Regions from separate parts of the Homo sapiens genome. Here all the other regions are linked to region 1. Evidence: promoter capture Hi-C in 16 types of primary human blood cells and fetal thymus (Javierre and others, 2016). All regions are on one chromosome and are shown on one strand. The core of a region is centred on a gene start or on the middle of the fragment in contact, and the rest is flanking DNA. Distances in the headings are between cores, read along the strand shown. Region 1 holds the start of TCF7L2 (transcription factor 7 like 2). Region 2 overlaps HABP2 (hyaluronan binding protein 2). Region 3 has its middle 16 kb from the start of HABP2. Region 4 has its middle 32 kb from the start of HABP2. Region 5 has its middle 53 kb from the start of HABP2.

Region 1 (4,764 bases), core at 1,129-3,628:
CAGGCCAGTATAGTAAAATCAGTAAGTACATTCTTTAAAATTTCAATTCAGTATATTCCTGAGATTTTATTATACAGGTAGTACTATAAAGAACATAGAAGACCTCATTATCCAACTTAATTCAGACCAGGGTTTGATTAAAAAAATAAAAAACAAAAAACTACCACACAGGACAAAGAAATTGCCATAAAATTGAGTTCCTATAAATGTGTTCCAGTTTAAGTAACTAAGTCCCTAAAATGAGCCTTAGTAAAGTCTACGCTGCATATAGACAGACTTAGGCACATCAAGTATACAGGTGACAATTAGCAAGTGTATAAAGCTATGGTCATTTCGCTAAATGTGTAAATCTAAAGGCAACCAAGTAAAAGACCTAAAAAAGGAAACTGTTAAGTCCATTTGTACATGGATTTAACAGTGAAGCATTTCATTCTTCATGTTTTCACTTGGTGTCTTGAAATAATCCCCTTTCTGTCTCCACTCTCCCTCTTAGACACTGCACCTGCCTTATTTATTTATGAAGTCTGAAGGTTAGTCCTACCTGCTGAGACTAATTAGCCCTGTGCTTTGTATCCTATGCAATCCTGTCTGATTAAATGTACACATTTGTTTTACTTCTTTTCAGGCTCCTTCTCACTCTACTTCTGATATTCTGATTAATATCAAAGTTGGGAGTTACAGTGATTCTCCTCTGCCTCCCCCCCAACCCATTTTTATTTTGCCTGCATCTTATTCTTTAGTGTGCAAATGTGGTTGTGATTTTTTTCCAGTGCAGGGGAATTCGTTGGCCTTGTCAATCTCGGTATCATTATTTTTAGTAGTCTTTCTGAGACTTTAGCCTATAAAACAGTTTTGCTGAAACCCCAAACTCTCTAAATATTACATGGCAAATTTGCTTTCTTTTGGAAACCTCGGTGCTGATGGGCCAGCTGAAGTGCAGGTGAGCTTTTTCAGGGAAGGGTGGGACAACAGTACATCCTGGACTCTAGACTAATACTACTCCTAAGAGGCAATTTGCTAAATCCTACTGATTTATTTTTTTCTTTTTTCTCTTTTTCATGTTGTAGTGTCCAGTCTACTTCTTACTGGGTATTTGCAAAAATGAATTTTCTTGCTCTATCACCCAGGAACATTGTGTTTTGGGAGCTGGGTCTTTCCTCTTTAACATAATTCCATTCCCCATTTTGTAGCAAATCAGTCTGCTCCTCCTCTAATACCTAAAAGTCAACAAATACCTGCCTCAAGCCCCAGGTTTCCCATCTTCTCCCGAAGGTCTTCTAGCATCGGTTTGGTTAGCAATTTCCTGCCAGAGCCACCTACATCTTGATTATTTTGGTCAGTCTTTCGGGGATTTCATTTCAGACCCCCTTCGAGAAACACTGTAGCCCAACTGATCCCAGGGGTTGGTGAACTTTCAGTTTTATTTTCCCTGACGGTGTTAACGCCCAAACTTTTCACCTCCTAAGTCAAAAAGGACTTTGACTCTAGCTCATTTCCTACTACCTCCAACGTCAGTTAAAAAAAAAAAAAAAAAAGCAAAACACCACTCTACATTTAAAAGAATCATATATTTTTCCTTAAGGATACTTTTAATGTTTCTGACATTTAGCATTTGTTTTTTGCATAAAAAGTCGTTTTGGCATATCCATCCTAGTGGGACTTAACATTTCATGAAATGATTCACTACTAATAAACAAAAAAGGGAGGAGGGAGGCCTCATGGGTTAATAGTTTCTTTCATTGTAGATGACCAGGAACTTTGACCAGCCCCTTCACTTCCCCAAGCTCTCTGAAAGTGGAGGGTTGATCTTTCCTTTTGACCACTTTTGTCGCATCCCGTCTAAGGGTGGCTGATTTCACTGCTGAATTAACCACCAAGCACCCCCCCACCCCCTCCCCCAGCCACCACTTTCTCAAATACTACCCTTCCTTTTCCCCCTCCCTTAAGACTTATTTCTAATATTTCTAAAGTGCACTGTTTTGGGCCTCTCCCCATCCCCGCCCCCCAAGTGGGCTTTCCTTCCGCCTTCCTCGGCTCGGATTCCTGACTTGGTCGCCACCCCCTTCTCCTCCTCTCCCACCCCGCATTGTCTTTCTGAAACCGCCCCCTCCCGGAGCAAGTCCCTGCACCCTCGCCCAGAATCCCGGGCTCGCACACACTCCGCGCAGGCCGCTCCCCCTGCACACTCCTCCCTCCGTCTCCCCCCGGCTTCCCCGCCCCTCTCTTCCTCCTTCTTTCCCTCCTCCCTCTCCCGGCGCCCGAAAGGATCATTGTTAGCCGCCCCCGCCCCGCCCACCCCGGCTGTTTATTTATGCACACGTCACTGGGCCGGCCCCGCCCTCCGGCATCTCATTAAGGCAGTGTGTTCCTCTCGCCCTGTCAATAATCTCCGCTCCCAGACTACTCCGTTCCTCCGGATTTCGATCCCCCTTTTTCTATCTGTCAATCAGCGCCGCCTTTGAACTGAAAAGCTCTCAGTCTAACTTCAACTCACTCAAATCCGAGCGGCACGAGCACCTCCTGTATCTTCGGCTTCCCCCCCCCTTTGCTCTTTATATCTGACTTCTTGTTGTTGTTGGTGTTTTTTTTTTTTTTACCCCCCTTTTTTATTTATTATTTTTTTGCACATTGATCGGATCCTTGGGAACGAGAGAAAAAAGAAACCCAAACTCACGCGTGCAGAAGATCTCCCCCCCCTTCCCCTCCCCTCCTCCCTCTTTTCCCCTCCCCAGGAGAAAAAGACCCCCAAGCAGAAAAAAGTTCACCTTGGACTCGTCTTTTTCTTGCAATATTTTTTGGGGGGGCAAAACTTTTTGGGGGTGATTTTTTTTGGCTTTTCTTCCTCCTTCATTTTTCTTCCAAAATTGCTGCTGGTGGGTGAAAAAAAAATGCCGCAGCTGAACGGCGGTGGAGGGGATGACCTAGGCGCCAACGACGAACTGATTTCCTTCAAAGACGAGGGCGAACAGGAGGAGAAGAGCTCCGAAAACTCCTCGGCAGAGAGGGATTTAGCTGATGTCAAATCGTCTCTAGTCAATGAATCAGAAACGAATCAAAACAGCTCCTCCGATTCCGAGGTAGGAAAAGCCCCTCGGGCTGGTGGGGTTTTTTATCTGTTTCCTGGGCTTGGCAAATGTTGCTGAAAGGGGAGAAATCGGGGCTGGGGGCGGCGGCGGGGCCCGGCGGGCGGCGTGTGCGTACGGTGCCACCATTGCAAAAACTTGTAACCCTGTTTTTTTCTACCCCCCCCTCGACCTCGCCGATTCTTTTTCTCCCCCTTCTCCCCCTTCTGCGTGGCGTTTGCCCCTCGCCCTCCCCACCTCCACCCCTCTGGGAAGGCGGAAAGACGGCCTCCGCCTCGCTCCGAAAGTTTCCGAGACAAATCCCGGGAAAGTTTGGAAGAAGGTGAGTACGCCCCGCGCGCCCCGCAGCCGCCCGGAGCCGCCCCCCGGGCCGGCCGCCCCGCGCGCCCCGGCCCCGCGCCCGGCTCGGCCTGGCCCTGCGCCGGCCCGGTCGGGGCGCCCGGCCCCTCGGGGCACTTTCTAAAAAGTTTCTCCTCACTCTCTCCCGCTCCGCGCGGCCGCCGCTGTCCCCTCGCCGCCCCGCCATGTTAGCGGCCAAGAGGCAAGATGGAGGGCTCTTTAAGGGGCCACCGTATCCCGGCTACCCCTTCATCATGATCCCCGACCTGACGAGCCCCTACCTCCCCAACGGATCGCTCTCGCCCACCGCCCGAACCGTAAGTGCCTCCGCGCCCGGCCCCCGCCCGCTGCCCGCCCGCCCGCGCCGCCCGCCGGGCCCCGCATGCGGCCCCTGCCCTGCCCCCTCCCCGCCTCCCCCTCCCCGCCTCCTCCCCTCCCTCCCTCCCCTCCCCCGCTCGTGGCCCAGGAGGCCCGAAACTCTCCAAACTTTTCTGCCTTTTGTGGACTGGATTTGTTTGCACTTCGCCACGTTCTTGCTTTCAGTTTGCTGCCTCGTGATGTTGGGGAGACCTCTCTGTCCAAGCAGGGCTTTGTTGGTGGGGAGGGGGGGGAATCCGAAGAACTTTCCTTTGCGTTCTGGTTCCCCCTCCCCCTTTGGTGGTGGTGTTTGTTTCTTCACCCTGGGAAGATGACTCTGTGGCTCTTCCTTTGCTCTCTCTCCCTCTCTCTCCTTCTCTTCCTTCCCTCTTCTGTGGCGTCTTGGGCTTTCCCCGGTTAACCCCTTGGCTGCCGCTGCGGGCCACGAGTGACTGACTGTGCTGCGCCCGATGCGCGGGGTAGAGAGTGGGTTTCCTCCAGGCATTGGACTTGAGAACTGGCTAGCGCGCAGAGCCCGGGGCCCTGGAGAGGCTCCTTGGCTTTCTCTTTTGGGCGACTATGTATTTAGCTTTCTAGTGGAGATTGCTGGCTCTCGGCCCTCCTTCCCCCTTCCCCTGGAAGGTCACACTTCCCAGATTGGTCCCACCGCAAACTTGGGGGCTCTGAGGCGTCCTTTTCTTTGGCAACCCGCAGGGCCGCGAGCGCCCTGGGCGCCGTGGCGGGCTCCGCTGCCCGGCGCACTGGCTGCGGGCTCTCCCGGGCCGCGCAGGGCAGCAGGGCTGAGTGGGGCGGGGAGGCCCCTGCGGCCCGGATTCTTGGTTTGTGTGCAGCCGGAATGGACTCCTCCAAGCGGACTTGTGTATTTCTAGGGAATTTTGGCGCCTTGGGATGTATGGCGGGGTCGGCGCTCGCCAGCTTCCGTGTAGGCCCGTCGTGGGCCCCAGGGGGGCCAGAGACCAGGGTG
Region 2 (4,764 bases), core at 1,651-4,150, 610 kb after region 1:
AAGGTGTCAAAATGGGCAGCAGCCTGAGACTCCAGCTTCCAGCAGGAGACAAAGTCGCTCCCATCTGGACGTTCCCTCAATAGCCCCGAAGCTTTGCTTTCCCTTTGCTTTCCGACACCACAAGGATCGAGTCTTGCCGGCTAGCAAACCAGTTCGTTCAGTGTTTTCAAAACTTCAGTCATGAATGAAGCCATCTTCAGAAATTCTGCCAAAGCCCAAATTAGTTTCTTAATACTTTTGTTAAAGACTCACCTTTTCTCTACCTAAATTGATTTAGTTCTAAAGGAAATTGTCATTACTACAAAGAAAGCGAAGTGATGTCATTGAATTCTAGCTGGCTGCTGTTGACATGCTAAAGGTCTGAGCCTGAAGCGGCTTTATCCTCCTTAGAGGAAAGATCAGCAGGAGGCAGAGGATAGAGACACCAGCACCCGCCAGTCCTTCCCCCTGGTGGGATTGGAAGGCTTGACAGTCAACCTGAGAAAAGAAAGACTTTCTCACGCTGTGTTTTCTGTTTTATTCTAATGCTGTTACTTCACATCCTGGCTAGGCACCATCTCAATCAACTCAGATACCCGCAGTGGCTCACATCTGATGCCACGGAAAGCGCAGGAGTGAGCACAGCTTCAGCAGAGGTGGTGCTGATGCCTAGCGGGGGAGTTACCTTCCTGAAGCCCTGGGCTATTTGCTGGGGCTGACTGACCAAAAAGGGAAACATGGGGGCTTGTGCTTATGAGGCGGCCCCACGCTCAGCTGTGCTTTGGTTTTGTCCACTTGCTTGTCTTAATTTTTTTTTTTTCTTAGACGGAGTCTCGCTCTGTTGCCCAGGCTGGAGTGCAATGGCGCAATCTTGGCTCAATGCAACCTCTGCCTGCCAGGTTAAAGCGATTCTCCTGACTCAGCCTCCTGAGTAGCTGGGATTACAGGCAACTGCCACCACGCCCAGCTAATTTTTGTATTCTTAGCAGAGACAGGGTTTCACCATCCTGGCCAGGCTGGTGTCAAACTCCTGACCTTAAGTGATCCACCCGCCCTGGCCTCCCAAAGTGCTGGGATTACCGGCGTGAGCCACCGTGCCCAGCCTTCGCTTGCCTTTTAAAAGGGCTTCCAAGAGCATTATCATATGCAGAATTTTTACCCAGTCTCCTTGTCTTGGATGGCCTCACTCCCTAACCTTCAAAGCTCCCCTCCACCACCATCTGTTTGCACCAAGTCCCTGGGATGAGCCATTTGTACAGATATTTCTCACCAAGTCTCACCTGCGGAGTAATCATTGCAAATGCCATATTCTTCCTGAGCAGCCAAAGTTCCTTGAATAAAACATTGGAATTGGGAAAGGGAATTCTTACTTTTATAATTGGGGAAACTGAGGCACAGAGAGACTCAACAAATTGCACAGGAGCAAAGATAGGCCCTGAGTCTCCTCAGCCAGAAGCTTCACACCCAAGAGAGCTTGGTATAACCAAAGCGTGGCCAAGGGCAGAGTCGCCTGGGCACTGGAGGAAGATGTGTGTTGTGTTCCCAGCCCACCTCAGACCCATGGACGCCAAACCTCTGCGGGTGGGCCCCAGGGATCTGTATTTTTATCAAGTTCCCCAGACAATTCTTATGCACATTGAGGTTTAAGAACCAATGTCTTTAAAATGGAAATTCTCCGGATGTAACAAATGGGACTCTTCTCTTTCTGCCCATTGCCCCTGTCCCATCTCTGCCTGCCACTGTCACACGAAGCTGCAGCTCAGCCCTTAGCTGGGTAGGGTCTGAGTGGCCAGCTCTGGGCTTTAGAGCAGGGAAGCTGCACAGAATCCCTCTGAGCCAGGCATAGGTGATCGGCGTCAGAGCCAGGAGACTTGAGCCTGAGTCCCTCCCCTGCCCCAATGTGTCCATGTCCTTACACAAGCCACTTCACCATGCTGGGCCTCATCTTCCTCCTCTGCAGATGAAGGGTCTGAGCCAGTTCCTCTCTACAGTGGCTCCTGGCTCATCACTGTGGTCTGGTGAACAGCTTCACCCAGGTGTCCAGGAAGGAAACCACCCACAGGCACTGCTGGCCAGCACCTTCACCTTTGGCTTCCACATTCTCCCTTGAGAGTTTTGCCCCCTTCCCCTGAGCTTCAGGTGAAAGCAAAGCTGCAGTGAACCTGCCAGTCTTGAGACGGCATTGAGCAATGTGTGCAAAAGCCAGAAGGGCAAGATTCCTGTGCCTACGAAGGGATGGAGTTGCACCACTTCACACCTATTAGGATGGCTCACTTCATACCTATTAGGATGGCTATCATTTTCGAGAATGGGGAATAACAAGTGTGGGTGAGAATGTGGAGTAATTGGAACCCTCAGGCCTCGCTGGTAGGTATGTAAAATGGTGCAGCCACTGTGGAAAACAGTATGGCGGTCCCTGACAAAGTTAATCGTAGAACTACCCTAGGACCCAGCAATTCCACATCTAAGTACATATCTGAAAGAACTGAAAGCAGAGACTTGAACAGAAATCTGTACACCAATGTTCATAGCAGTATTATTCACAATAGCCAAAAGGTGTAAATGACCCATGTCCATCAAGAGATGAATGCATAAACAACATGTGATTAGATAGAGACAATGGAATACTATTTAGCTGTAAAAAGGAAGGAAAGTTTGATACATGCTACCTAGAAGACCTTGGAAACACGATGCACAGTGAAATAAAGGCAGTCCCAGAAGGACAAATATTGTAGGATTCCGCTTCCATGAGATACTTAGAATTGCCAAATGCACAGAGACAGAAAGTAGGCTAGAGATTAGCAGGGCTGAGGGAGAATAAGAAGGAGGCGTTTCTGTTCAACGAGTACAGTCCATGCTGGGGATGACGAAAAAGTTTGGGGATTAGAGAGTGGTGATGGGTACACAGCATTGTGAATGTAATTAGTATCACTGAAAGGTACACTTACAAATGGTCAAAACGATAAATGTGATGTTCTGTATATGTTACCACAATTTTCAAATAAAAGGACTGAGTGGCTTGGCACAACTGCTCATCTTAGTGTCTTCTAGGATAAAGTTGGTTAGACAGAAAGTCAAGGAGGGGCAGAGAGAGAAGGAGCCCGTGTCTCTGAATCCTACTGATTTACAGTGTAATCTTCTTGGGGGTGGGGAGTGTATACGTCTAGTCTATTTTGTCCTATCTTTAATCCAGTGATGATTTCAACTCAGGCTGAAATGACATCGCTTATCTTTGTAGCAGGAGCCAGAGAAGAACAACATGAGGGAGGATTTGGCCTGGGCACTGGCAGCCACTGCCCTCTGCCACCTCCACTACTCGCTCTGGCCTTGAGCTCTTTGCCCAGCAAGGGGACTGGCCCTGCTGAACTGTGCACACTTGTCCCTGTCCACCTTCCAGTCCAGAGGTTGCAGCCTCAACCATGGCCATGGTACAGAGGTCTCTCCTCCCCAGCTGCCCTTGGGAGTAACGCACCTCCCTGGTGGTTGGCAACATGTGGCCTACCACCAGGCATAGGGTAGAACATGCAAGGAAGAAGAGATGGTGTGATTAGAGTCCCAACCTTTTATCCAGCAAGCAGAAGATTTCTCTGCTCTTAGTTCATTCGGAGCTGAGCCTCTGTCCCCAAAAGACAAATCTGGCCCTATCTCCCCCATCACTGCCTCCTAATCCCTCTGAGAACATTTTCTACCAACGAATTTCTGGAACACATCAACTCAGACTGTTAGGCTTTTTGTTTTGTCTTCCAGAAGTTTTGGAATTCTGGAAGGCAGAGGAAGAATCTTAGTTGAAATAATCACTGGATTAAATATAGGACAAAATAGACTTGATGTATGTGCACCCCACCCACAAGGAGATTACACTGTAAATCAGTAAGACTCAGAGACTCGGGATCCTTTTCTCCCTGCCTTCCTCACTAACCAACCTTAACCTGGGAGGACACCAGACTTTGAGACTCTGGTGGCTTAGGGAGTTTAACATTGCTAAGGGCCTGCTCCTAACCTTGAAGTCAGTGTCCTGAGCCAGGGATCCATTGAGAAAGCCCAAGTGCGGAGTAGAATAAACAGTCGTTGGATCTAGAATGGTCTTGCTAAATATACTACAAAGCAGCTACCTTACCATGTGCAGAAGCAGCAGCGTCCACCCTTTAAGAGAAGACGGGTCAGCTGGGACCATGTGCTATTTTAGCCCTGTTGAAACTAGGAATGGATGTGGTGGGAGAAGTGGGCAGTGGCTTACGTGCCTTTTGATCTGAGTGAAGATGTTTGTTAAGATGTGTTTACCGCAGTAGGCTGGCCAAGGCTCAATCTGACTTTTGTACTTTCTCCAGCTGTCACTGGGGCCAAGTAGGCCCTCTCTGTGGCCTGCCAGGCCTAGGCCAGATTGGATAAGCTTTTTTTTTTTTTTTTTTTTTAAGACAGAGTCTCATTCTTTCACCCAAGCTGGAGTGCAGTGGCACGATCTCTGCTCACTGCAGCCTCCACTTCTCAGGTTCAAGCGATTCTTGTGCCTCAGCCACCCGAGTAGCTGGGACTACAGGCTCCTGCCCTCACGCCTGGCTAATTTTTGTATTTTTAGTAGAGATGGGGTTTTGCCATGTTGGCCAAGCTGGTCTCCAACTCCTGGCCTCAAGTGATCTGCCCACCTCGGCCTCCCAAAGTGTTGGGATTACAGGCGTAAGCCACTGCGCCCGGCCCACAGATAAGCCTTTTTATAAAGCATTCCAAGAACAGTGCCCCTGATTTTGAACCTAGCTCAACACCTGCCTCTCAAGGTTAATGAGCTTT
Region 3 (4,764 bases), core at 854-3,353, 590 kb after region 1:
CCATCTGTAAAATGGGGATATGGATTGTAGCATCTTCTTCATAGGGCTATTAAGGGGATTAAAAAATATTAAGAGGCATGTGAAGCACTTAGCACGTGGACATATTCAAGGAAGTTCCCTGTCATAGCAACCAGTAAAATTCCACCAGATTCTCGGGAAGCTGAGATCATGGAAACATAGAAGTTTCCAGAGATGCCACAGGAAGCAAAGGGAAGGGGAAGGATCCCCTAACTTTGCACTTCCTTCTGTCCACCAGTCTTTCATTAGCGCCCTTCAGTGGCCAAACCCATCTGGAAGCCAGAAAGAGAGCCTGATCTTTTTTTTTTTAAGTTCTGGGATACAGGTGTAGAACGTGCAGGTCTGCTACACGTGCCATGGTGGTTTACTGCACCTATCAACCTGTCATCTAGGTTTTAAGCCCCACATGCATTAGGTATTTGTCCTAATGCTCTCCCTCCCCTTGTCCCTCACTCACCAACAGGCCCTGGTGTGTGATGATCCGCTCCCTGTGTCCATGTATTCTTATTGTTCAACTCCCAATTATGAGTGAAAATATGTGGTGTTTGGCTTTCTGTTCCTGTGTTAGTTTGCTGAGAATGATGGCTTCCAGCTTCATCCATGTCCTGCAAAGAATCTGAACTCATTCTTTTTTATGGCTGCATAGTATTCCATGGTGTATATGTGCCACATTTTCTTTATCCAGTCTATCATTGATGGGCATTTGGGTTGGTTCCAAGTCTTTGCTATTGTAAACAGTGCTCCAATAAACATACATGTGCATGTGTCTTTATAGTAGAATGATTTATATTCCTTTGAGTATAGAGTCTAATCTTTTGCCATTACTTTCAATGACAAAAACCACAATTACTTTTGCACCAACCTAATAGCTCCTTCCAGTGCAAAGTAAGGCAGCAGAGGAACAGGCAGGAATGGGGAGTGGATCCAGGAACAAGCAGACGTCACATACAGTGTGCGTGCATGTTGATAAAAGATAAACCTCAGCCGAATTAAATTTAAAGGAGTTTAATTGAACAATGAATGAATCGCGAATCGGCAGACCCCAGAATCACAGATTCACAGAAGCTCCGGGGGTGGCTCATAGTCAGAATAAATTTATAGACAAAAAAGGTAAAGTGACATACAGGAATCAGAAGTGAGCTACAAAATAGCAAGATTGGTTACAGCTCAGCGTTTGCCTTATTTGAACGCAGTTTGAACACTCAGCAGTCTATGAGTGGTTGAAGTATGGCTGTTGGGATTGGCCAACACTCAGCTATTGCTAGGGGTGCATATGATTAAGTTAGGTTTTCAATTTTGTCTGACTATTAAACTAGGTTACAGTTCATCCGCAAGGACTCAAATATAGAAGTACGGAGTCCTTCTCAAGCCATATTTAGTTTGCTGTAACAGTGTGCATGTTTCACTTTGTGGGGATGCAGTCTAGGTTGCACGTTCATAGATATAACACATCAAGGCCAGGCATGGTGGCTCACACCTGTAATCCCAGCACTTTGGGAAGCTGAGGCAGGTGGATCATTTGGGGTCAGGAGTTCAAAACCAGCCTGGCCAACACAGTGAAACCCTGTCTCTTCTAAAAGTACAAAAATTAGCCAGGCATCGTGGTGCACACCTATAAACCCAGCTACTCGAGAGGCTGAGGCAGGAGAATTACTTGAGCCCAGGAGGCGGAGTTTGCAGTGAGCACAGATCATGCCACTGCACTCCAGCCTGGGCAACAGAGCGAGACTCTGTCTCAAAAAAAAAGGGAGGGGGAGGGGGGTCTACCCTATATGATCTTCACCAAAACCCTGTAAAGTAGGGAAACTAAGGCTCAGAGCGACTGCTTTATCCTTTATCAGGGGCCACATGAGCCTTTAAGCCCGTTTCCAGAGTGGCAGTCCAGCCAGTTTTACCCAGCACCTGCGCTCCTGACTGACCCCATTTGGCCCTGAAAGTTAGCTCAAGTGAGACTTTTGGTCAAACTGCAGTCTCAGAGTTAAACAATGGGTACTCATGGACATAAAGACAGGATCAATAGACACTGGGAACTGCTAGAAGTGGGAGGGAATGAGAGGAGCAAGGGTTGAAAATGGGGGGATGCAGTCTAGGTTGCATGTTGGGTACTATGCTTGGTACCTGGGTGACGGGATCATTTGTACCCCAAATCTCAGCATCACACAATATACCCGTGTAACAAACCTGCACATGTACACCCGAATCTAAAATAAAAGTTGAAAAAGAAAAATGACACTGTGGTGTTGCCACATTGTGAAGTGGCTGAAGGTGACTATACTCTCAGTAACTCAGATCTGCTCCTTCAGGAGGGCAAACTCTGAGACAAATACCCCAGGGTAGCTGCTCCCACTTGAATTTTTCTTATATATAGGCTTTAGCACTTAGACTTGCTTCCCCAGCGACACTCAGCCTAGTAACATAGAAAAGGTAAAAAGAAGGCCAGGAGTGGTGGCTCACACCGATAATCCCAGTACTTTGGGAGGCTGAGGTGGGCAGATCACTTGAGGTCAGGAGTTCAAGACCAGCCTGGCTAATAAGGTGAAACTCCGCCTCTACTAAAATGACAAGAATTAGCTGGGCGTGGTGGTGAGCACCCAGCTACTTGGGAGGCTGATGCAGGAGAATCACTTTAACACAGGAGGCAGAGGTTGCAGAGAGCTGAGATTGCCCCATTGCACTCCAGCCTGGGCAGCAGAGTGAGACTCCGTCTCAAAAAAAAAAAAAAATCCCAAAAGCAAAAGGTAAAAAGAATTAATTACAATAGATAGAGAGTTGGTAGAGAGTTGGATAGATGATAGCTTTGGGGAAGAAGAATATTTAATTCAGTTCAGATTAAAATGCAGCATAAATTAGTTGCCGACAAGAAATCCAAACTGTTGCCCTCCCTTTCTGTCACCCCTCCCAAAGGCTCCAGGTAAGTCTGGGCAGGGCCAGGAGGGAGGACTGTGGCTGCCTGTCCTGTCCCTGCCCTCCCTCAACCCAGGCAGCAAGCCCCCACCCAGGCCTGTTTTTCCTCAGCACCAAAGTCCAGGGTCTAAGGGGAAGTCGGCAGGTATTTATTAGGACGGTGCAAAAGTAATTGCGGTTTTTGCATTACTTTTAATAAGTAATGCATGCATATGCATGCTTCACTTTGGGGGCATGCAGTCTAGGTTGCATGTTCATAAATACAACACATCAAGAAACAACAGCAAAGCATATTGCATGGTCTACCCCATGTGATGCTCACCAAAACCCTATATGGTAAGGAAACTAAGGGTCAGAGGGACTGCTTTATCCGAGGCCATGCAAGCCTTAAGCATGTTTTGAGAATGGCAGCCCAGTCATCCTTACCTGGCACCTGCACCCCTGACTGTCACCATTTGGCCCCAAAAGTTAAGAGCAAGCATGCCAGAAAGCGTTTTTCTTTTTTCTTTTCCTTTTCTTTGGGGGATGCTTGGGGAGAGGGGTTGGGAAGAGGAAGGATGATCTCATCTCTTATTTTAATAATGAATCACTGGGGCCCTTGCTAGTGGGAAGTCCAGACTCTGCACCCCTCAAGCCTCCCACTCCTGAATTGTGTAATCACCCTGGGGGCTTACCCAGTCCAAAGGGAGAATCAGCCTGGAATCCAGAAACCAGGAAGAGAGAAAGCTGGGAGCAGAAAACACAGGTCAGAAGCTGGCCTGCAGATGTGCTTCAGGTGACAGACACCATGTTGCCCCACACAGGTTAAACATCAATGAATTGTTATCAACTTTTGGGTATCAGGAGCATTTTGAATTTCTGGCTTCTTTTGAAAAGTGAATTGTCAGGCCGGGCACGGTGGCTCATGCCTGTAATCCCAGCACTTTGGGAGGCCAAGGCGGGTGGATCACCTGAGGTCAGGAGTTTGAGACCAGCCTGGCCAACATAGTGAAACCCCATCTCTACTAAAAATACAAAAAATTAGCTCGGCATGGTGGCAGGTGCCTGTAATCCCAGCTACTCAAGAAGGCTGAGGCAAGAGAATTGCTTCAACCCAGGAAGCAGAGGTTGAGGTGAGCCAAGATCACACCATCACACTCCAGCCTGGGCAACAGTGTGAGGCTCTGCCAGAAAAGAAAAGAAAAGAAAAGAAAAGAGAGAAAGAAGGAAGGAAAGAGAAAGAAAGAAAGAAGGAAAGAAAAGAAAGAAAGAAAGAAAGAAAGAAAGAAAGAAAGAGAAAGAAACAAGGAAAGAAAGAAAGATAGAAAGAAAGAAAGAAAAGAAAGAGAGAAAGGAAAGAAGGAAGAGAAAAAGAGAGAAAGAAAGAAAAATGAGCTGTCTGGCCACATGAGGCTCACATTCCTGCAGGGCAAAGATGCTGACACTGGATGGGACTGCCTCCTTACCTCAGGCCTGAGATCCCCAGCTAGCTGTAGTCTCCACCACTCCCTAGTGATCCCCCAACCTTCCAGTTAATTGTCATTTGTCCCAGTTCTCAGGCTGTGTTCCTCTGCCTCCCTCGTTCTACTCATTTCAGATGACCTGCCCTGTAGGCATCTGCATTTGCGGGTCCCAGTCTCATTCACCTACTGTCTTGTTTCTGTCCTTGCCACTTGCCACCAGCTCCCCTGGCACCACACAGAGCCCCAGACCTGCCCTCCCCAAGTTCCCTCCCACTCTGCTTCCTCATGAGACCTCCGTGTGGAGGAGGAGTTTCCTCTCCATTCTTTAAACATGCACTTCCCTCCTACCTCCAAGCCTTTGCTCATGTTGTTACCCTTGCCTGTTTTCCCTATTTCTCCT
Region 4 (4,764 bases), core at 608-3,107, 570 kb after region 1:
GTGGTATTTAAAATAATAGTGCATTTTATCACCTGTGGCACCTTAGATTTCTGCAAGTCGGGCTATACCCTATCTTACATATGAGGCCTGGAGAGGTTAGGAAACCTGCCTAAGGCCACACAGCCACTATTTGGACTTGAAACAAGGTGTATCTGGCTCTCAGTCACTGGCTTTCAGTGGGACTAGAGCTGGAGGTCCCATCCTTGCAGGGAAGGGAATGTCCACTCTCCAGGCAAGCATGAGGAGGGACGGGGGGCTTGCAAATCTGGCCCAGCCTGCTGGGCTACTGAATGGGAAGTGCGGTGATGGGACACCGGCAGCACAGGGCTGGTCTCTGTTTCCTGCACACAAGATTCTGTTTTTGTCACTGCTTAGCTCTTAAGCATCTGTTAGTTTTCAGAATCTGCCTCTGAGTTAGAGTCACTTTAACTCAGAGTAACCACATTATCAAAGAAAAAAATAATGGGAATCTTTTGGATCAAGAGTGACTAATTCTTTCAGGGAGGCAGTGTGGAACTGGAAAGAGGCCAAAGATTGAAGTTTGGTACGTCCGGGTTTGAATCCTGATTCTTGCTGCTAAAAGCAAGCTGGCAAGTTGCCTAGACTCTCTGAGCCTCGGTGTTTTCATCTGTAAGATGGGAACAATGACGCCACCTACCTGGAAGTACTGCTGTGAAGATTTTGTGTGTGGAAAATGTCCGGGGCATGGTAGGTGCTTGTTAATCGAAGTTACTATTTTATTGTTGTTCTTATATCTTATCCTGAGGATGATGATGATGATGAAGAAGATGATGAGGATGAATGGACCCAGCAGGGCCTTCTCTCAGTTGTCACACATCTCTGACACTCTCCCCTCCTGGGGCTCGGCCACCCCTGTCCACTTTGCTCCCCAGTTGCTGGGTGGATGTCCTCCCTCTCAGCCTCCTGGCCGGAGGTGCAGCCCTGACTGCGATCCGGGCAAACCCTCTACCGGCCCAGCATGCCCAGGCTCTGGCTCCCTTTGAGAATGGTCCCTTCTGTGAAGAGGTGGCTGAGAGGGGCCGTGAGGGTACCTTTAACGCCCCCAGGGGCCGGCTCCCGCATGGCACTTCCTCCTTCGTTCATTTCAGGCCTCTCAACTCCCAGCTTTTGTGGGTTAAGGGGCAGCACCAGAGGAAACAGCAGTGACAGCCTTGCCCAATAGTGTCTAGGTGTTGTTCACACACTGGGATTTCCTACTGAGGGATGGAGGGCACTCAACTTCCCCCATGGGGTCCTTGGGAGGTTAAGTTGTAGCCCTTTGCCCAGGTGCTCCCAGCGCCCCGACATACCTAATGTGCCCCCAAGACACTCATGCAAGTTGGAGTCCATAACTTAGGCCCTCACTTGGGACCCAAGTATACAGACAGTTACCTCTGTATTCTGTCAACCTCACCACAAGCCAACAGAGACCCAGAGAGGTTAAATGTCAAGTCCAAGTTCACAGAGCCAAGATGCAGACAAAGCCTAGATTTGAATGGCCATGTGAGCTCTGGCCCCTTCCTATACCCAGTGACTCAGGTCAACTGGCAGGATAGCTGTTGTTTGCCATAGAATCTGGGCAAGGCTTAAGCAGCAGAAAAGGGGAAAGGGCCATTTGGGGAAAAGAGCTCAGGGAGAAAAAGCAGGGCTGGAAACCCACCTGCTCGGGGACTGTGGCTGCTTTTCTGAAGACAGAGCTGGGCCCTCAGCCCGCCTCCAGCCCAGTGCAGGAGGGGGCTGGGAGGGCCCCTCATGTTCCTACCCAGCCTTGCACAGGCCCCTTTGGGCTTGCTCCAGAGGAAGATCCTGAATGGTCTGGCTGGAAACTCCCACAAATCTGCTCAGGAAGGCTATCATCACAAGAACTTTCTAGAAAAGGAGGTCCCCATTGCTCCCTTTTAGTCAGAGCCTAGAGCTCCACTCCCATGGATGGTTATAAACCTGACCGAAGAAGACAGGGGAGCGTTTCAGGAATCTCATTCCAAAAATAGCCATCAAATTTCAAATTCCAGCCCACAGCAAGCAGTACAAAGATTCATATCCGCTCCAGTGATGTCTCTGGCTGCCATTCCCTCCTCCCTTTGTCTGGGATTCCTGCCCCAGCCCCCGCACTGGCCCCTGCCATCTCTATTTAGTGAGCTCCCAGACCTTCTCCAAGACCCTGTGCAAATGTCACCTCCTCAGAGATGCCCTCCTGACTCTCTTAGAGCACAGTGCCTCCTCTGGTGCTTCCGATGCCTCTTGGAAACCTGTACTAGGTCTCTCAGTGTACTTGCCCATCATCTCCCCTAGATAGTACAGTGCTTGTAATACAGTAGGTGCTCAATAAATGCAGGTGGAACAAATGCATGCATGCATAAATGGCCATTTTAGCTTCGTTTATGCTGGAAGTTGCAGGGAAGTCATTAGATCTTTGCATCAGCCTGTTGAAGTGCATTTCATCTGAAGATTGTATGACAGTGGTCATAATAAAAGAAACAGTAATTGCTGCCAAGGTCTCTGCTCGCTTGTGAAGCCTGGATGGAGAGGCTGGTCGGACTTGGTCCTGGTAGCCTTGTCTTTACTGTCCTCTTGTGGCCAAAAGTTGCTGCTGCATCTGGAAAAGCTGGCAATTTCAATGAGGCCACAGGGGGATATTTTTACCTGTTGGAGCACAATCTTTTTGGGATCCCTGAGTCATTTTGAGCCCAGTTCCCCATAGACTGTATGTAATGTGATCCTCCTTCTCGGGCCTTGAAAATATGTTAAAATAAATAATAAGCAGCAATTGATAGGGCCTGAGCAGCCGCAAAAAGAGCATTAGAGACTCCATCAACTCTGACTTAGGCCTGTGTTAGGTACTTGGGTGTGGAAGGGAAAAATATAACAAAGTGTGTGACAAATTTATGCACTCAGAGACTTTGCTGTCTATTTCTAACACCTTCATCAAAAGTGAACAATACCATACACTAATAAACAAAAATACCCATTCATCTAGTAGCCAAGGTTTGGAATCAAATGGCCCTGGATGTGTATCCTGGCCCCACCACTGATTGCCTAGGTGACCTCGAAGGAGTCACTTCGTTGCTCTGAATGTCGTTTCCTCATCTGCAAGATGGCCTTTTAGGTGTACCCCCTTCCTCCTTCGCAAAACTATAATGATTAACTGAGATGACATGTGTCAAGCCTTAGCATGGTGCCAGCACAGAGTAAGTTCTCATAAAAGCTAGCCATTATTGTTACAAGTAAGGTTTTTAATTGTCTGATGCAGAGAGAGAACCGGGTGAGATGTGATAAAAACCTGGGTAAATAGACTCTTCAACATGGTTTGTTTTTTTGTTTGTTTGTTTTTCGTTTTTTGTTTTGTTTTGTTTCGTTTTGTTTTGAGACAGCGTTTTGCTCTGTCACCCAGGCTGGAGTGCAGTGGTGCGATCTCGGCTCACTACAGCCTCCACCTCCTGGGTTCAAGCAATTCTCCTGTCTCAGCCTCTCAAGTAGCTGGGACTACAGGCATGTGCCATCATGCCCAGCTGATTTTTGTATTTTTAGTAGAGCCAGGGTTTTGCCATGTTGACCAGGCTGGTTTTGAACTCCTGGCCTCAAGCGATCCACCTGCCTCAGCCTCCCAAAGTGCTAGAATTACAGGCATAAACCACCGAGCCCAGCACCACCATGGCTTTTTTAAAGGCAGATATCTCAGGTATTTTTCTTCTCAGAGCCCATTGCAATCCTGTGTTTATTATTAATATGATAAATTGGTCATGGGCAAGGTGATCCATAGGGCTGCCATTGTCCCAGGCTGCATGGAGGAGGCAGGCTGCTATCAGTTGGCTCTAGCCAGAGTCTGTTTGCTTCGCTCTTTCCCGCCTTACGCATGGCAGACATCACTAATCGATTACAGATCTCTTTCACATAGATCATGAATATAATTTCAGAATTATTCTCATAATACAGCTCCAGGCAGTTATAACAGTTAAGCAGAATGGGAAAATGGCATACAATCTAATTTACCTTTCCAGCTCTTGGCACATGGGTAGATTAAAGATGTATAGAGGAAGGAGGAGAGCATTTTAGCTGGAGGCAGTAAAGGAAGTTGAATTATGAGTGAGAGATCTGATAGGAAAAGGAAGGAAATTAAAGACAGGCTGGGTTATGGAGCCCCTTGACTTCAGGCTGACTTAAAGCAGTAGGCAACAGGGAATCGCCAAAGGCTGCTGGGCAAGAAACCGTGGTAACGGTCCTATGGGGGCAAGATATCTCTGGCAGCCAGTGCCAGGTGGATTGCAAAGGGACTGAGTAGGAGGGCTGGAACTCAGGACAAGCTGCTGAGGGATGCTGGAAAGGAAAGCTTGGTGGACGCGCTGACTCCTGGCACATTAAGAATGAAGAAAGTGGTGCCATCCAAATGGTTTCTCCGACCTTGACCTCCACAGGCTGGGAGAATAACAGCACCTCCACCAGGAAGTGTGGTTGGGCACCGAGGAGAGAATGTGCTTTGTTTCAGGCATGTGGATTTGGAGAGCCTTTGGGACATCTATGCAATTTCCTGTGGGCAGCTGTAAATGGGAGACTGGAGCCAGAGCTAGAGCTACAGATATTAGAAAGAAAAGAGAGAAAAATAGTTCATGCTTTCTGGGCCCAGCCTCGCTTTTACTCAAAGCAGTTTGGGTAGGAAAAGAAAGAGCACATTCAGGAAAAAGACGAACTGGGCGAAGGTCATGGCTTAATTAAGAGGCATTCACTGCGATATGGTTATTCCAAAAGACACTGCATATCTGGGTCAAG
Region 5 (4,764 bases), core at 1,571-4,070, 550 kb after region 1:
TTGATTCCTTATAGAGTGCTCTGTCTCCCACGTTCTGCTGCCTGCTGGTGGAGTATTCCAGCATGCATTCGTCTGGTTTTAACATACTAACTTCATTCAGAACCCAACCAGAACTCTCACTCAATCACATGTGCTTTCGCAATGCTGACCCCCGACAATGAGTAGGCAAGGGTATTACAGGATTAGGATTTGGAAATAACTTCTGAATCCATAAGAAGACAACTGAACCCCTCTTCTGGGAGTCGGGGGCCCTTGCTCCCAGCTCTGTACTACCACTTCTCTGGTGTGATGGGCTTGGCGGAAGCTGCCCCTTCTGGGCTTCTGTCCAGGAGGTGAGGAGTGGTCGTGACAAAGTCCTTGACCACATTTCAGCCAGGCTCCTCGCCCTCTGCTCAAATATGCATCCACCTCAGCCCCAGTCCTTGCTGGGCCTGCACATCCCAGTTTTAGAGAAAACCCTGCTGAGTTGGTTTAGAGAAAATCTCCCACCCTTGATATCTGTTCATCATAGGCTGGCTTCAGCAAGAATCCTCTTAGTCCATTTAGCAAGAATCTCTCCCAACATTGGATGAATCCCCTTAGCAATTTTCCATCCACTGACTCCACACCTCCACCCCACAAACCTACTCCCTGACTATCAATCTCCACTGGCTCTGTTGCTGTTGTATTCGGTATGGCTCTCATTCCATGCTGAGGTCTCTTTTCCCCTACCCCAACAGGGTTCTGAATAAAATTCATTTTTACCACTTGAATTACTGTCCAGTTCTGATTCTCTTTGACAATCTACACATCCTTCAAGTCAACTTCTAAGTCCAAAATTCTGCATAAAATTCTATATAAAATCCTATTCAGTGATATTTTCCATTCAATTTATTTATTTATTTATTTTTTATTTTTTATTTTTTTTTTTTTTTGAGACGGAGTCTCGCTCTGTCGCCCAGGCCGGACTGCGGACTGCAGTGGCGCAATCTCGGCTCACTGCAAGCTCCGCTTCCCGGGTTCACGCCATTCTCCTGCCTCAGCCTCCCGAGTAGCTGGGACTACAGGCGCCCGCCACTGCGCCCGGCTAATTTTTTGTATTTTTAGTAGAGACGGGGTTTCACCTTGTTAGCCAGGATGGTCTCGATCTCCTGACCTCATGATCCACCCGCCTCGGCCTCCCAAAGAGCTGGGATTACAGGCGTGAGCCACCGCGCCCGGCCTCAATTTATTTTTTGAACATTTTGCCACCTAGGATGGCACGTATGGAAACTGAGTTGACCAAAGCCATTGATGCACCGGAATAAACCATTTCTTACCATCTTCATGATACAGTAGAAATAAATCTTCACAGAAACCAAAAAACAAAGCAAAACAACGACAACAACAAAAACATGGCTTCACTGGAACAAAGAGAGCTGTTGAACTTGGGTGTGGCATGGAATCTGTCTGCACCTCAGTTTCCTCATCTGTTCAATGGGGAAACTGATTTCTTTTCTCCACACCCAGTTGGGGCAGATTGCCATGAGGATCTAAACCCAATGCATAAGTGAGGGGAGGGAAAAAAAGAAGCTTAAAGTGCACCACAGAGGTAGAGCAGGAGCATTATTGGGTGGTGGGAATTTGCTCTAGATGAGAGAGAGCCTGCTGCAAATATAGGATTACATTTTTAATTACCTTCAGATGCCGACCTATGTAAACAGGCCTGTTATGCCTCTTTGGGAGGGGATAGGAGAAACGGATGGGATGGGACTCATTAACTTGCTGGCAATGCTTTTTTTGTGGCAGTTTTAAGGAAAACCTTTAGGAGAGGGAAAAACAGCCGCCTCTGTTCACAGCTGCAATGGCAAAGAGATGCAAAAGAGCCGGTCCTTCTTCCTCTTTCCATCCTTTTCTGTTTTCTGTTCTGGGAGGTGCATTTGTCCACTTACAGCACTTGGCAACTTCTCTTTGGCAATGTTCATAAACGTTGCAGTGCAGGCATTTCCTGTGTGTGGTTTTTTTCCTTTTGAAGCTTGTTTGCTGCACCCTTTGGTGAGAGTTGCACCTCAAGGAGGGCTGGAGTACCTGTATAGTGCTGGATTGTGCAATGCCAGACGGATGGCTTTTTTTTACCCCTGGCAAGATAAGACTCTATGAAGTATGATTTTGTTAATAGTCTCTCTCCCAGTCCTGGTCCTCTTGGGAGCCTCCCATGATTGGTCAGTTGGATGATTATAATGGGCACTAATTATACCTGGAAGCTAAGGTATAGCAGGCCTCACTTACAAAGCCCTTGGTGATAAGGATTTTGGTAAATACAATGAGACGAAAACGACTTAATCTTTCTAAAAGGACAAAAGAATTACTTCTTGAAAAATGAGCAACTTAAGAAAACGGTTAAACAGAGGAAAGAGAAATGAAACAGAAATGCTTCCAGCTTTTTACCGATGAGGAGAGAAGAGGCAAATTTGGATTAACCCTGTGTGGACTGCCGTGGACTCAGTTGAGAGCAGTCATCATCTCGTCCTGGATGGATACTAAGAATGTTCTGATGACACAGTGACTCCCAATAAAGGGAATTCTCAAGTGTGAAAGCCAAATACAGCCCTTCTTTCTAGACCCTAAATATGTACATTGAAGCCAAGAAATAGCCCCAACCTACGCCCAGATACAAAGGCCCTTAGTAAGGCTTTTCTTCCTTCTGAATGATTCATGAGCAGCTATGCCCCAGACCGTGAGGCTGATCTTTAGCCTGTAGCTCTTCCCCCTAGAATTTATCAACCACGAGTGTTCAGCAAGGCCAGGATGACTGTAGGAGAGCACGCAGAAGAGGGAGCTTGTGCACAGAGAGGCAACGAAGGCCACATGAGTTCCAGAAGGAACTTCCTGGAAGGAGGGGTTCTGAGCATAGGGAGCAGAAGGAAGCCATACAGCTAAGGGAGAATTGAGACTTGCTATTTCCAGAGGAGAGCTGATGCCAGTGTTCCACACACCTGTGTGGACTTTCCATTGATTTCTTTCCAGCAGCTGGCTTGCTTCTTCATGATTTTGGAATGACCCAATTAGGCAGGGCTGTGGTAGCTTAGTACCGCGCTGCTCATTGGAGCATCTGGCCACATGGACCAGGACACCCCCAGGCCTAATCTCCAATAGACTCTCTGCACACCTAGATGTTTTACATCCAGGAAGAAAACAATTTTGTGGCAGACAAGTTCATTTGGTTCAATCGCTGAGCCAGTGAGTCCAGGAGCCCAAGTTCAATGTTCTTAGACTTGTCCACAGGCCTCATTTGGTCCAACCCTGCCACTTCACTGGCCTTGATTCCTACGGTTCTACCATCTGTTCACTCTGATCCAGCCACTGGCCTTCTTGCTGTTCTGCACACAAGCCTTGCTCCTGCCCCAAGACCTTCCCACTTACTCTTCTCACTACCTGGAACACTCATCCCCCAGAGAGCTTCATAGCTCCCCACTCACTTCCTTCAGGTCTCTGCTCAAAGGCATGTTCATTGTCAAGCTGTCCCTGAGCATCCTGTACAAAATGCAACAGCCTCCTCTCCCCAAGGCCTCACTCCCTCCTCCCGACCCCCTAGAGATTTTTCTGCAAAGTGTTTATCACTATGTAAACATTCTGTTCCCATTCTGTTCACTTGTTTATGTGTTTATTGTCTACCTTCTCCACTAAATGAAGCTTCATGAGAGAGAAGACTTTGTTTTGTTCATGCAACAGTACCAGAACTCAGCACAGTGCTTGGTCTGTAGCTGGTGTCAAAAAAAAAAAAAAAAAAAAAAGTTTGGGCCAGGCGTGGTGGCTCACTTCTGTAATCCCAGCACTTTGGGAGGCTGAGGCAGGCAGATCACCTGAGGTCAGGAGTTCATGACCAGCCTGGCCGACATGGTGAAACCCCATCTCTACTAAAAAATACAAAAATTAGCCAGGCGTGGTGGCAGGCACTTATAATCCCAGGTACTCGGAAGGTTGAGGCAGAATTGCTTGAACCCATGAGGCGGAGGTTGCAGTGAGCCAAGACCGCTCCATTGCACTCCTGCCTGGGCAACAAGAGTGAAACTCTGTCTCAAAAAAAAAAAAAAAGTTTATTTAACTGAATTTGAACAAAAATCCCCACACATACCAGTTTAGCTGGAACTCTTCTCAGACCACATTCTAAGGCAGCTTCTGAAGACATGTGCTCTTGGGGGATATTTAAGGGGACCAGCCCTTTCTTTGCTATAACTGAAACACGAATATGGCCCACGTATCGTACTGAAAGGATGTGATTATAAACTAAAAGTAGATGTGGATGACAGAGACCTTGCCCTCTAGCAGCTGGCTGAGTAGAACCTTCAAAGTTGCCTTGTGTGGGTCCTTCTCACTTTTGATCTATTTTAGCAGAAAGTGGTATCCAGACTTTTTGCCAGAATATCGATCATTTCACTAGATTCTACTAGTCTAAGTTGTCAGAGAAGGAAAAGGGATATTGTTATGTTGTTCAACAGAAATAGACTAAAATAGGCAGCCTCAGTTCCTGTCTTCCCCTTTGCAGTGAATAGTAGCAGTACCCCCCAGCCACACTCTGGGCTTCCAACTCAGGCTCACTGGGATAGATTGTGTTACTCACAATACTTTCTCTCCTCCTGCTCTTTCATTGTTCACTATGAGTTCCCATACCATTGATGTTATACTTGGCTGTGGGACTTGCTTTGGCCATATAATAGGGACAGAAGTGACAGTGTGCCAGCTCTGACCCTAGGCCTTCAGAAGAAGCAATTTTTTTTTCTACCTTCCCTTCTTGAGGTTCTAACA

What was found. Contacts are between HindIII fragments. The CHiCAGO score rates a contact against its expected background, and 5 or more counts as called.
Region 2: a contact is called between a fragment that was not itself captured here and the fragment with the promoter of TCF7L2 in region 1, in 1 of 17 cell types (M1 macrophages). The highest score is 6.5, in M1 macrophages.
Region 3: a contact is called between a fragment that was not itself captured here and the fragment with the promoter of TCF7L2 in region 1, in 1 of 17 cell types (M2 macrophages). The highest score is 5.0, in M2 macrophages.
Region 4: a contact is called between a fragment that was not itself captured here and the fragment with the promoter of TCF7L2 in region 1, in 2 of 17 cell types (M1 macrophages and M0 macrophages). The highest score is 7.9, in M1 macrophages.
Region 5: a fragment that was not itself captured here is called in contact with the fragment with the promoter of TCF7L2 in region 1 in 2 of 17 cell types (M1 macrophages and M0 macrophages); the score reaches 7.4 in M1 macrophages.

What each region holds. Positions count from the first base shown.
Region 1 is chr10:112,947,869-112,952,632 of GRCh38, forward strand. It overlaps TCF7L2 (transcription factor 7 like 2), which reads left to right and starts at 2,379. Exons shown (of 15, transcript NM_001367943.1): 1 at 2,379-3,077; 2 at 3,339-3,405; 3 at 3,615-3,739. The coding sequence starts at 2,889. It overlaps LOC124902502 (a long non-coding RNA gene), which reads right to left and starts at 4,474. Exons shown (of 2, transcript XR_007062291.1): 1 at 3,910-4,474; 2 at 2,761-3,139. The HindIII fragment of the contact is 8,187 bases long and covers 1-4,764 here.
Region 2 is chr10:113,558,072-113,562,835 of GRCh38, forward strand. All of the region lies in intron 1 of HABP2 (hyaluronan binding protein 2), which reads left to right. Among named protein-coding and RNA genes, the nearest start is that of HABP2, 7.4 kb to the left of the region's middle. RefSeq lists enhancers at 1-136, 137-817 and a silencer at 1,339-1,633. The HindIII fragment of the contact is 2,934 bases long and covers 1,434-4,367 here.
Region 3 is chr10:113,534,793-113,539,556 of GRCh38, forward strand. No RefSeq gene overlaps it. Among named protein-coding and RNA genes, the nearest start is that of HABP2, 16 kb to the right of the region's middle. The HindIII fragment of the contact is 7,074 bases long and covers 1-4,764 here.
Region 4 is chr10:113,518,814-113,523,577 of GRCh38, forward strand. No RefSeq gene overlaps it. Among named protein-coding and RNA genes, the nearest start is that of HABP2, 32 kb to the right of the region's middle. The HindIII fragment of the contact is 4,935 bases long and covers 1-4,325 here.
Region 5 is chr10:113,497,270-113,502,033 of GRCh38, forward strand. No RefSeq gene overlaps it. Among named protein-coding and RNA genes, the nearest start is that of HABP2, 53 kb to the right of the region's middle. The HindIII fragment of the contact is 1,658 bases long and covers 1,992-3,649 here.